Regions from separate parts of the Homo sapiens genome. Here regions 2 and 3 are each linked to region 1. Evidence: promoter capture Hi-C in 16 types of primary human blood cells and fetal thymus (Javierre and others, 2016). All regions are on one chromosome and are shown on one strand. Each heading gives the region's core, a stretch centred on a gene start or on the middle of the fragment in contact. The rest is flanking DNA. Distances are from core to core; before and after follow the strand shown. Region 1 holds the start of OSTC (oligosaccharyltransferase complex non-catalytic subunit). Region 2 overlaps LEF1 (lymphoid enhancer binding factor 1). Region 3 overlaps LEF1 (lymphoid enhancer binding factor 1).

Region 1 (3,188 bases), core at 309-2,808:
TAAGCTATAAAGGAAATTTAAAAACCTTTAATCCCTATGTTTTTCCAAAGCAAAATGTTTTATTTTTATTTTTTTCTTCATACCAAAGCAAAATATTTTAATTGTTCCAAAGTGTTCCTTACTTATAAAACTGTGGGAATTTCAGAAACATTCTGCTTTACAGTGCCCAGAGAAACTTCCTACATATAAACGCTGGTTTTGGTGTAAATGCATTCATTATTGGTGTTATCATTGGCCTTTACATAACCTAAGATTCGTGTGGCTCCGTTAAGACATAGGCAATATGACTCTGGGAGAGACTCTCACTAATGAACAGTAAGGGCAGCAAGCCTCAACTGTACTTAGAATTGGATACTACAATGTTTTGATAGTATTTTCATTACCGTCTTCAAGCAATTTCTTAACAATTGAGTTGTTAGCTAATTAGAAGTGCAGAACCAATACATGGCATCCTGTAAAAATAACCACGGGCTTAGTAACAAGCAAATAAAAAAATATAAAAACATTGGCTCTATAATGTGTCAATATGCTCTGGACTTATGTAATCAGTGACTCTTAACTCTTGCTCCAAAAGGAAGTTAACATTTGTAGAGTCTTAAAAGATTATATAAAAAAGAAAAGCAAAACAGAAAACAAAAAATCTTTTAGACCTTCTAGTCCATCCCTAATGACTAATTCTCCATCATATATTTTCATCTATTTGGATTGTAAATGTTGCCCAGACCAGAGATGGCGGTGGTTCACACTAGGGTGTCAGTGGTGGAATGGTGAGGGGCAGATGAATTGGAGATATTTTGGTAGTACAGCCAAAGAGACCTACTAATATTTTGGATGCAGAAGGTTAGTAAGGAGAGAAATCCAGACGACTTTAAGATTTTTGGCCAGAGGGATTTTACCTTTTAGCGACATACAGATGACCAAGGGAAGAGCAAAGTTGAGAGGATGAGTTATTCAAAATAGTATTATGGTCACGCCAAGCTATCAGCATTAAGGCATCCCTGTAGAGATGTCCTGTTGACATTTGTGATCCAGGCTGGATGTTTAAAAAAAATTGGTAACATATTACTTTAGCAACTATTATTAATTCTTATTATTACCACGACTACATCGGGAAGTAAAAGCTCAGCAGCCTCCGGCTTTTCCTAACCCTTGAAAAAACCTCTAATATAAAAGGCATTTATATCCAAAAGTTCCCATTCATCTCCCGCTCTGGGAACCGGGAGCGCCCCCTGTCCAATCAGCTTTCAAATCCCCTGCGTCAGCGAGTGGGCGGGGCTCACCTAGATTCCTTGGCCTCCGCTTCTCCGGCTTGGCCACGTTAGAAGTCCCGCAGGTCCTTGAAGGTACACAAATCACCTATATATCCATTAGAAAAATGTAGAGTACATTATCACAATGTAAGTTTAATTAGATTAAATAATTTACAACACTTTATTCATATCATTTATTTGTTTTATTTAGTTTCTTATTTTCTTCTATGAGTATAGTAACCACCTCCGAGCTTTACGGATCTGCGGGTCCTTTCCTCGCGCACGCGCACTTGTTAGGGAGGGCGGGCCTGTTTCCGGGAGGCGCGTGGGGCTTGAGGCCGAGAACGGCCCTTGCTGCCACCAACATGGAGACTTTGTACCGTGTCCCGTTCTTAGTGCTCGAATGTCCCAACCTGAAGCTGAAGAAGCCGCCCTGGTTGCACATGCCGTCGGCCATGACTGTGTATGCTCTGGTGGTGGTGTCTTACTTCCTCATCACCGGAGGTAACTCGGGCTGTCGGGCCCGAGAGGCTGAGGAGCGGAGAACTGACCCGCCCCGGGAGGCGCGTCTGTTCCGCTGACTCTCAGCCCCGGGGGAAGCATAGCTCTGCTTTGGATCTTTTCTGAGGGTGGAGGGGAGTTCTGGGGTCCGAAGTGTTAACGTCCAAGTTTATTCGCCTTCACGCCCTGTCTTAAGAGAATTCGTGTTCTCACTCCCATTGCCTTTCTTCTCCTTCTAGCCCTCCCATCCCAGGGATCCGAGTCAAATATATTTTTCAAGGCCAAATTGTTGCTCTTTTTGTTGCTTGCCATACGTTGTTTGATAAATGTCCTGGGAAAGCCTAATTTGGCAAACTCCGTTTCCATGGTTGGTTGTTTGATAAAGGTCCTGGGAAGGTCTAATTTGGCCAACTCCGCTTCCATGGTTGGTCAAGAGCTTGTGGGACTTTTAAACTTATCTTTGTCCTGGAATCTTGGAAGAGACTTGACAATCTTTAGTTTTGTTGGCTCAAACCTAGGGTTCTGTGTTGCCTTTTGCATGACCTACAATAAATATCAATGGAATTTTCTGAAATCACAGGTTTGATAAATATTTGAGATTGGAGATGAGATTTGCAGACGATACTGTATTTCAGTGGGCAGAAGTTGAGAATTAAAAAAATAAGATAAATAGCATTACTATTAAACGCTTCTGAATTGTCTATCATCTTATTCTGTCCTTTTCAAATAGAAAATTGCAAAGGGGCGTTGCCTTATGTACTGGTGAGTTGGCAATCCGGCTAGTCTTTTCAGAGCCACTACCCTTTCAGGCCACAGTTCCAAGATTTACTTAGAACTGTGCTACTGTGTACATTTAGATTTGGGGAAGTGGTGTACTTAACTTGGAAATTATAAAATTAATTTAGATTTTGGGAAGTGGTGTACTTAACCTGGAAATTATAAAATTAAAGCTACGGATTTGGGATAGCAAAAGTAGTTCTACTTTTAAGGGAGTGGCCATATAATTGTTATTTTCATAGATGTTTTGTGAGAATAGTTGGCACTGAAGGGGGAGGATTCAAACTGAGAGAGCTGAGTTCTAGAAAGCACCTTTGAATTTACCTCCTTCCCCCAATCTAGAATAGTGAGAATTAACTTACGTTCATTTAAATAAATTACATTTAAATATTTGAGTTACATTTAAATACTTATTTGGTAACAAGATACTATCTAGCATTGCATTAGCATTAACCATTAACATTTGCTCATCAAGTTAATAGCTACTGTACTGAATAAACAAAATTTAAAATGCATGTGGCTTTTAAAAATAATAGACTTTTAAAAATAAATAATATAGAATAATTCAGTATTATTATTGAGTGCTCGCTTCGGCAGCACATATACTAAAATTGGAATGATAGGGAGAAGATTACCATGGCCCCTGTGCAAGAATGACTC
Region 2 (3,188 bases), core at 379-2,878, 580 kb before region 1:
GATCACTGGAGGCCAGTGGTTCAGGACCAGCCTGGCAAACATGGCAAAATCCTGTTTCTATTAAAATACAAAAATTAGCCAGGCGTAGCAGTGCATGCCTGTAATCCCAGCTACTCAGGAGGCTGAGGCATGAGAATTGCTTGAACCCAGGAGGTGGAGGTTGCAGTGAGCCAAGATTGCACCACTGCACTCCAGCCTGGGTGATAGAGCAAGACTCTGTCTCAACAAGAAAAAAGAAAACTGATATTTACACAATTAGCTTTAGTGCTAAATAAGGATGATTGGCAAGAGGCAAAGTTTTACCAATAAGGAAAAAAATTAGGGACAAAAAAAATAAAAGAAGACAGGAAGTCTTCCATTTTAAATTTACTATTTGACAACTATCATTCCCCTATATACAACACCTTTTATTACTGTATCAGTATAGTTTTACGTAACTTACAGTAGCTGAGAAAACCTGGAATCATAAATACAAATTAACTCCCAAAATAGGTATCAAGTTTGGGTCTTCTACCCAAACAACGAGGTATTTTTCAGTTAAAACAAGAAACAGGTTGACAAAAAGACCCAAGCTAACGAAACTGAATAAAAGGCAAGGAGGCAAAGTAGGCATAAACTAAACTATTTATTTACATGTTCCATTGCTTTAAGTCCTCTGATAACCCCCCCCCCTTTTTTTTTTGAGACAGAGTCTCGCTCTGTTGCCCAGGCTGGAGTGCAGTGGCGCGATCTCGGCTCACTGCAAGCTCCGCCTCCCAGGTTCAAGTGATTCTCCTGCCTCAGCCTCCCTAGTAGCTGGGACGACAGGTGCGTCCCACCACGCCCGGCTACTTTTTTGTATTTTTAGTAGATATGGGGTTTCACCGTGTTAGCCAGGAAGTTCTCTGATATTTCTAATGTACAAAAATGACTCACAAATAGAAGATCACTTACCAAAATGAACAGTAGATAAAATGATGTAATTAAAGTTTTGCATTGAAAACAAAAACAAAGTCTAGTACAGACCTGAAAGATGGTCTTTCTTTACAGGAATTTCTGAAACACAATTGACTAAAAATGCTTCTCTATCTCTATTTACTGCAAAATAAAGAGTCAAACTTTTTAAAAATCAAATCTCATTGTCAAGATTTCACCAAGTTGTGGGGAAAATATCCATTTAATTTGAATAAACTTGTACAGTTCCAAGATAAAACATTCTCATGACAAATTTGTGATAAATGGATTTCCTTTAATAGCCAGGAAGGTCTGAAGAGAAAAGGCTTATTTTAAAATAAAATTTGTGATATTATTATTTATAATATGGATTAAAAATAAAACTTTGATTAATTCATATGAACACTATTTTAGAGATATAGTAAAGATGAATAAAAATCAAAAGATAAAATGTTCTGGGATGGATTTAAGATCCACTTTTAAGAACTCAAATTATCCCAGTGTAAAACGTCATGATTTTGATGCCAGAGACTTTAAAGAGCTAGCAAGGGCTGCCCTGCCAGAGGGGAGTTATGAAAGGATAGAAAACCTGATCTTAATCAAAGATCTCAGAGACCTATAAATAGAAACAGGTGTCTAAATCAGAGACAGACAGAGACCCCAAATAAGAACCATCCTTTAGGACACATGCTCGGATCTGGGGATTGTTAAGGGAGCTGAGAAAGTAGCAATTGTTGGAAATGTGCATTAAGAATAGGAAGCATACCTTCATATCATATCCTCACTCTCTGTATTCAGCAGGAAAGTAATTCCCACTGGAGGGCCAGGGGGCCCTTAACTCAAAAAAGAAAAAAGAAAAAACTAAGAGTTGCATACAAGCTGAAATAAAAACATCAGCCCTTCTTTTCCTCTGATTTCTTCTTTTAAAGAGTCAGGGAAAATGATCATCAGTTTTTAAGGCGGAGTTCTTCCAAGATGATGGGAATCACTCATCTGCCATGATCTGGCTTGGGAAAGCATTGTAATTATTGTTATTAAGTGTCTAAGAATCCACAGGGAGATAGGGCATTGTACACAGGACACCAAAAAAGCTATAATCTATCACCACATCCTCCCCTGGAAACCCTGGTGACTTGCAGATTGGAAATAGCTGCATTTTGAGGCTATCCAATGGGAATCGATAATGTAAGAGGGCCTGCTTCCCTCCTGTTCACATGGACTGGAAATCTCCTAAATGTTTTCTGTTATAAATGCTCAAATTTATTAGGTTCAGAACAGACCTGGTAAAATTATCATCGACAATAGCTAACACATGATCCTCTATGTTTCACAAGGGTTGTTAGATCCTCCTCAACTGAATGTTCATTTGCCAATCATGAATTTCTTGAGAGGTTGCAAAAACAAACACAGGGTCACAAATTAAGAGGCTACCACACAGATATGAAGAGCATCAACAAATTAAGATGAAACATTTCTAAAATTATAATGATAACGTGACTATGGTGAAAATGTAATTTAAATTAGAGAAACTCAAACTTTTCTTACCACTCTTCAGCCATCTAACTGAAATCACTTCAATCCCATACAAAGTACTTGGAAGGACTGACTATGTATGTCTTTTGGCTGACAGTTGGATAAACAATCTTAGAGTGTCTATCCTAGTTGTAGCCTGCTGCCTGGTACATAACAGGGGCTCAGAAAAATATCATAGCATTGGTGAAAGAATGAATGAAAAGAAAAGGGCAACCCAGAAACCTGGCAGGTGTACACTTGGAGATTTGGAGAACAGTCTTTCTAGAATCAAGACTCCTCAGGATCATATACATTCTTCCATGTAAAGCCTCATGGTAGAACAGCTCTGCTTCTGTCCTGGAAGGAGTGGCCACCTCTGTTTGCCAGGACGGTCCCCCAAAGGCCTTGCTGTAGCTCCCTAAAGAGCTAAACGCTTTCCTGTTTCAGAGGCGGCACACACATGCTACTCCATCTGCATGTGGGGGAGTCTACCTCTCCCCATTCGTCTCTACTTACTCTCACATCTCAGCTTAAATACAGTTTCCTCAGAGGGGCCTGCCCAAGCCCCTACTGTTCTTTCTCACTGAATCTTATTCCCTACATTCACAGTATTTATCATAATTTTTATTACATATTTATTGGCTATTTATTTGTCTAATGTCTGTATTCTGTCATAAAACTTGAAGCTCCAGAAAGGGGCTGTACCTATTTTGGCTAATAGAGGCCCTAACAATGATTTATAG
Region 3 (3,188 bases), core at 376-2,875, 540 kb before region 1:
ATACAGGCCAGGCGTGGTGGCTCACGCCTGTAATCCTAGCACTTTGGGAGGCCAAGGCAGGTGAATTGCTTGAGCTCAGGAGTTCGAAACCAGCCTGGGCAACATGGCGAAACTCTGTCTCTACAAAAAAATACAAAAAAATTAGCAGGGCATGGTGGTGCACCCTTCCAGTCCAGCTACTCAGAAGGTTGAGGTGGGCGATCACCTAAGCTTGGGAGCTCCAGTGAGCTGTGATTGCGCCACTGTACTCTAGCCTGGGTGACAGACTGAGAACCTGTCTCAGGTTAAAAAGTAAAAGTACTGACATACAAAAAAAGTGGCAGCAGGATTTAGGTCCTAGTCTTATGGTGGACTATTGACACTGTATCTTCTCATCTGTGAAATCGACCCTGCCCTAATTCCCCTACAAGGCTCAGCAGCTAGTGATCTGAGTATGCAAAGAGCTCGGCTGTTGGAAACAGGCAAAAAACAGTGGTAATGACCTGTTGGGAGTTCAATGGTGCTAGGATGTTGGGAGGTCAGGCATTGATACACACTGTGTGGCTGCTGGGGCATTAGAAGCTTCCATCTCTGGAACCCTGTCCTATGAGCTTATGATGGTTTTCGTGTGGTCAGATGAAGGCTGTGAGGTCTCTGCTTCTGTAAGCAGAGGTCCAAGGACCAAAGCCAATACAAATAGCTCCTAGGCTTGAGAGTCAGTTTTTCGCTGCATGCCCCATGCCTGGGGTAGAGTGTTCTGATCCTGGTTTCTCCAGGCAATGAGAAAAATGTCCCTTGCAATGCCATTCAGGACTGTGTGATGGCCAGTCCCACCCACCCATGGGCACACAGCCATGAGGCAGTAAGAGGATGACGCCTGAAGCCAGACTGCCAGGGGCTGAATCTCAACTCTGACACTTATTGTACAACCTTGGGCATGTTACTTATTCTTTCTGTGCCTTGATTTTTCCTCATTGGAAAATAAGGATCATGATGACAGTACCTATTTCATAGGGTTGTTAAGGATTAAGTGAGCTGCTATTAGTTAAGTTCTTAGAATGATTTCTGGCTCGTAATGATATATAAGTATGTTTGTTAACTAGATAAAATGTAAAGATAAATCAGCATCAGCTGCACAGTAAACAAATGTCATTACCTGCAAGTGGGATTAGTACAAATAGTTTCACATAATTAGTATATGCTCCTGATTTTAATCCTATACCCTTGTAGAGAAACAGCCTTCTCAGAAAAGGCAGAGTCAAACCAGAGTCTAACTCTACAAAGTAAAATATTATCTGTCTCTAAGACATCCCCCAGCTACCCATTAAGTACACCATTAGACAATGTCATCAAAGCACTGTCAGAAACCACCCTGTTGGAGGAAAAACAACATTAGAATGGCAGAAGCCCAGGAATGGAAGCCTGATGCTGCCACATCTCTGAGCTGTGGAATGCTATCCGAGGTGAGATGTTCTTATAGTGAAACAGACAGGGTGTGTTTTTTAATTAATACAATGATGGAAACCATTCTCTTTGTTTAGTGCCATACAGTTCACTAAAGAGGAAGAAATACATTTTGCCAGTAAATCTATTCAGATTTTTCAATCTGGAAATCAGAAAGAAAGCTACATGGAACCAGATAGCATTTTGAGAACGGCAGAAAAAAGGTAGAAGAGCTCCAGAGCACTAGTTGCTGCCAGGGGCATGTGTCAGGGAGGAGAGCCAGCTGAGTTTGGGTGGGGGAAGTGCAGATCTCCGCAGCTGTGTTACAGGGGAGAAGGGAACACCTACTGAACGACTGTCTTTTGACAAGTCCTGAAACAAACCCACACACAAAGAAATTGTTGTGGGGGTGGGAGGGAAACGGGGACCAAAGTTAGGGAGTACCCACCCTGCCACAAGCCCACTGCCTGTACAGTCAGGCTCACCTAAAACATCCTGTTTTTGCCGCAGATCACAGCACCCTAAACCCAAGTCTGCATCTAGTGCTGTCAAAATACCAAAACATACAACAACTACAAATCTGCTCTTCGAAGAATTCAACAGGACCTCCCTGGCACTCCTTCAAATGGGAGGATGGGCAAATGCAAAACAGCAGTAATGTGTTGGGAGGGTGGGACCATGGATAAATTGCAGGTATGCATGTCGAGAGAAAAGTAAGAGAGGCAAGGAGGATGAAGCACTATGTGGCTATTTCTACTACTCAGCTACCCACTGTCACAAGTGCTTAGAATAATCATTTTGAATAAAAGAAAAGACGGATCCAATTGAAAGTTGCTTTGTTCTGCTTTCAGCTGTAAAAGATTTAGTTCTAGACCCTAAACTCATTTAAAAAACCACTATATGAAGACAAAGAATAAAAAATAAACACATAAGTTTAAAGCAATCTGGAGTTTTTTTTAAGGCAAGTATGTTATAGAAAATTCAAGAAGTTATGATTACTCAAAAATTTTGAGCTATTTATTAACATTTATCAAAAGCTATTCTTTTCATTGCAGAAAATCAGCATATTTAAGTCAGTAGTTACAGTCATACTCTGTGACTGTAATAGGCCAGTTATTTAGCATTTAGGCAAACAAACATAAAGGAAAAGTGTCCTTCAGAGATTTTCTCTCTTCTTTATTGTTAACCCACTTGGTAAGCAAACTAATTTAAAAAGTATTATCAGAGTCAAGTAAAGGAATCTGTAACAAGAAGCCAGGGAGGAGGACCAAGCTTGGCCTAAACGATAAAGGGTTTGTAAAAGCACTTTGTATGCAAAGAATCATATATATGATGATAATGATCATCATCATCACAGTCAAAACAGCAGGATAAGAAATGTCAACTAGGCCCTTCCAGAAAGTGGTTATTGCAGAAACAACACACAAGCATCTTATGTTAACAAGAAAAGGTCAAAATGAGGAAAACAGCAAAGCCATGGTGAAAAGGTAAGCAGTTTGGGGAAACAGCCCCAAGTGATGTGAAAACAAGAGTGTTTTCTAGATGTGGACGTTTAAGTGTGGTGCATATGAGCAGACAAACTCTGCGAGCTAAAGATATGGGACTTAATGTCTGAGGAGATAACACGAAAATACTGTGAGCAGCAGCCAAAGAGCAAGGAAAACACCTTGCCTTCTGGAAAAGGGTTTAAAGAGAGAGCCTTAGGACTTCCGTCAGGGGCTATCAGGTTACATCACGTTGAAGTGTATGTGCAATGTCTGAGAGAA

The links. Contacts are between HindIII fragments. The CHiCAGO score rates a contact against its expected background, and 5 or more counts as called.
Region 2: a fragment that was not itself captured here is called in contact with the fragment with the promoter of OSTC in region 1 in 1 of 17 cell types (fetal thymus); the score reaches 6.0 in fetal thymus.
Region 3: a contact is called between a fragment that was not itself captured here and the fragment with the promoter of OSTC in region 1, in 1 of 17 cell types (fetal thymus). The highest score is 5.2, in fetal thymus.

What each region holds. Positions count from the first base shown.
Region 1 is chr4:108,649,041-108,652,228 of GRCh38, forward strand. It overlaps OSTC (oligosaccharyltransferase complex non-catalytic subunit), which reads left to right and starts at 1,559. Exons shown (of 4, transcript NM_021227.4): 1 at 1,559-1,754. The coding sequence starts at 1,616. It also overlaps the pseudogene RNU6-431P. RefSeq lists enhancers at 1,499-1,848, 2,463-2,512. The HindIII fragment of the contact is 4,127 bases long and covers 1-3,188 here.
Region 2 is chr4:108,073,162-108,076,349 of GRCh38, forward strand. The region is part of intron 8 of LEF1 (lymphoid enhancer binding factor 1); the gene reads right to left. Among named protein-coding and RNA genes, the nearest start is that of HADH, 85 kb to the left of the region's middle. The HindIII fragment of the contact is 8,586 bases long and covers 1-3,188 here.
Region 3 is chr4:108,111,625-108,114,812 of GRCh38, forward strand. All of the region lies in intron 3 of LEF1 (lymphoid enhancer binding factor 1), which reads right to left. Among named protein-coding and RNA genes, the nearest start is that of LEF1-AS1, 54 kb to the right of the region's middle. The HindIII fragment of the contact is 2,133 bases long and covers 560-2,692 here.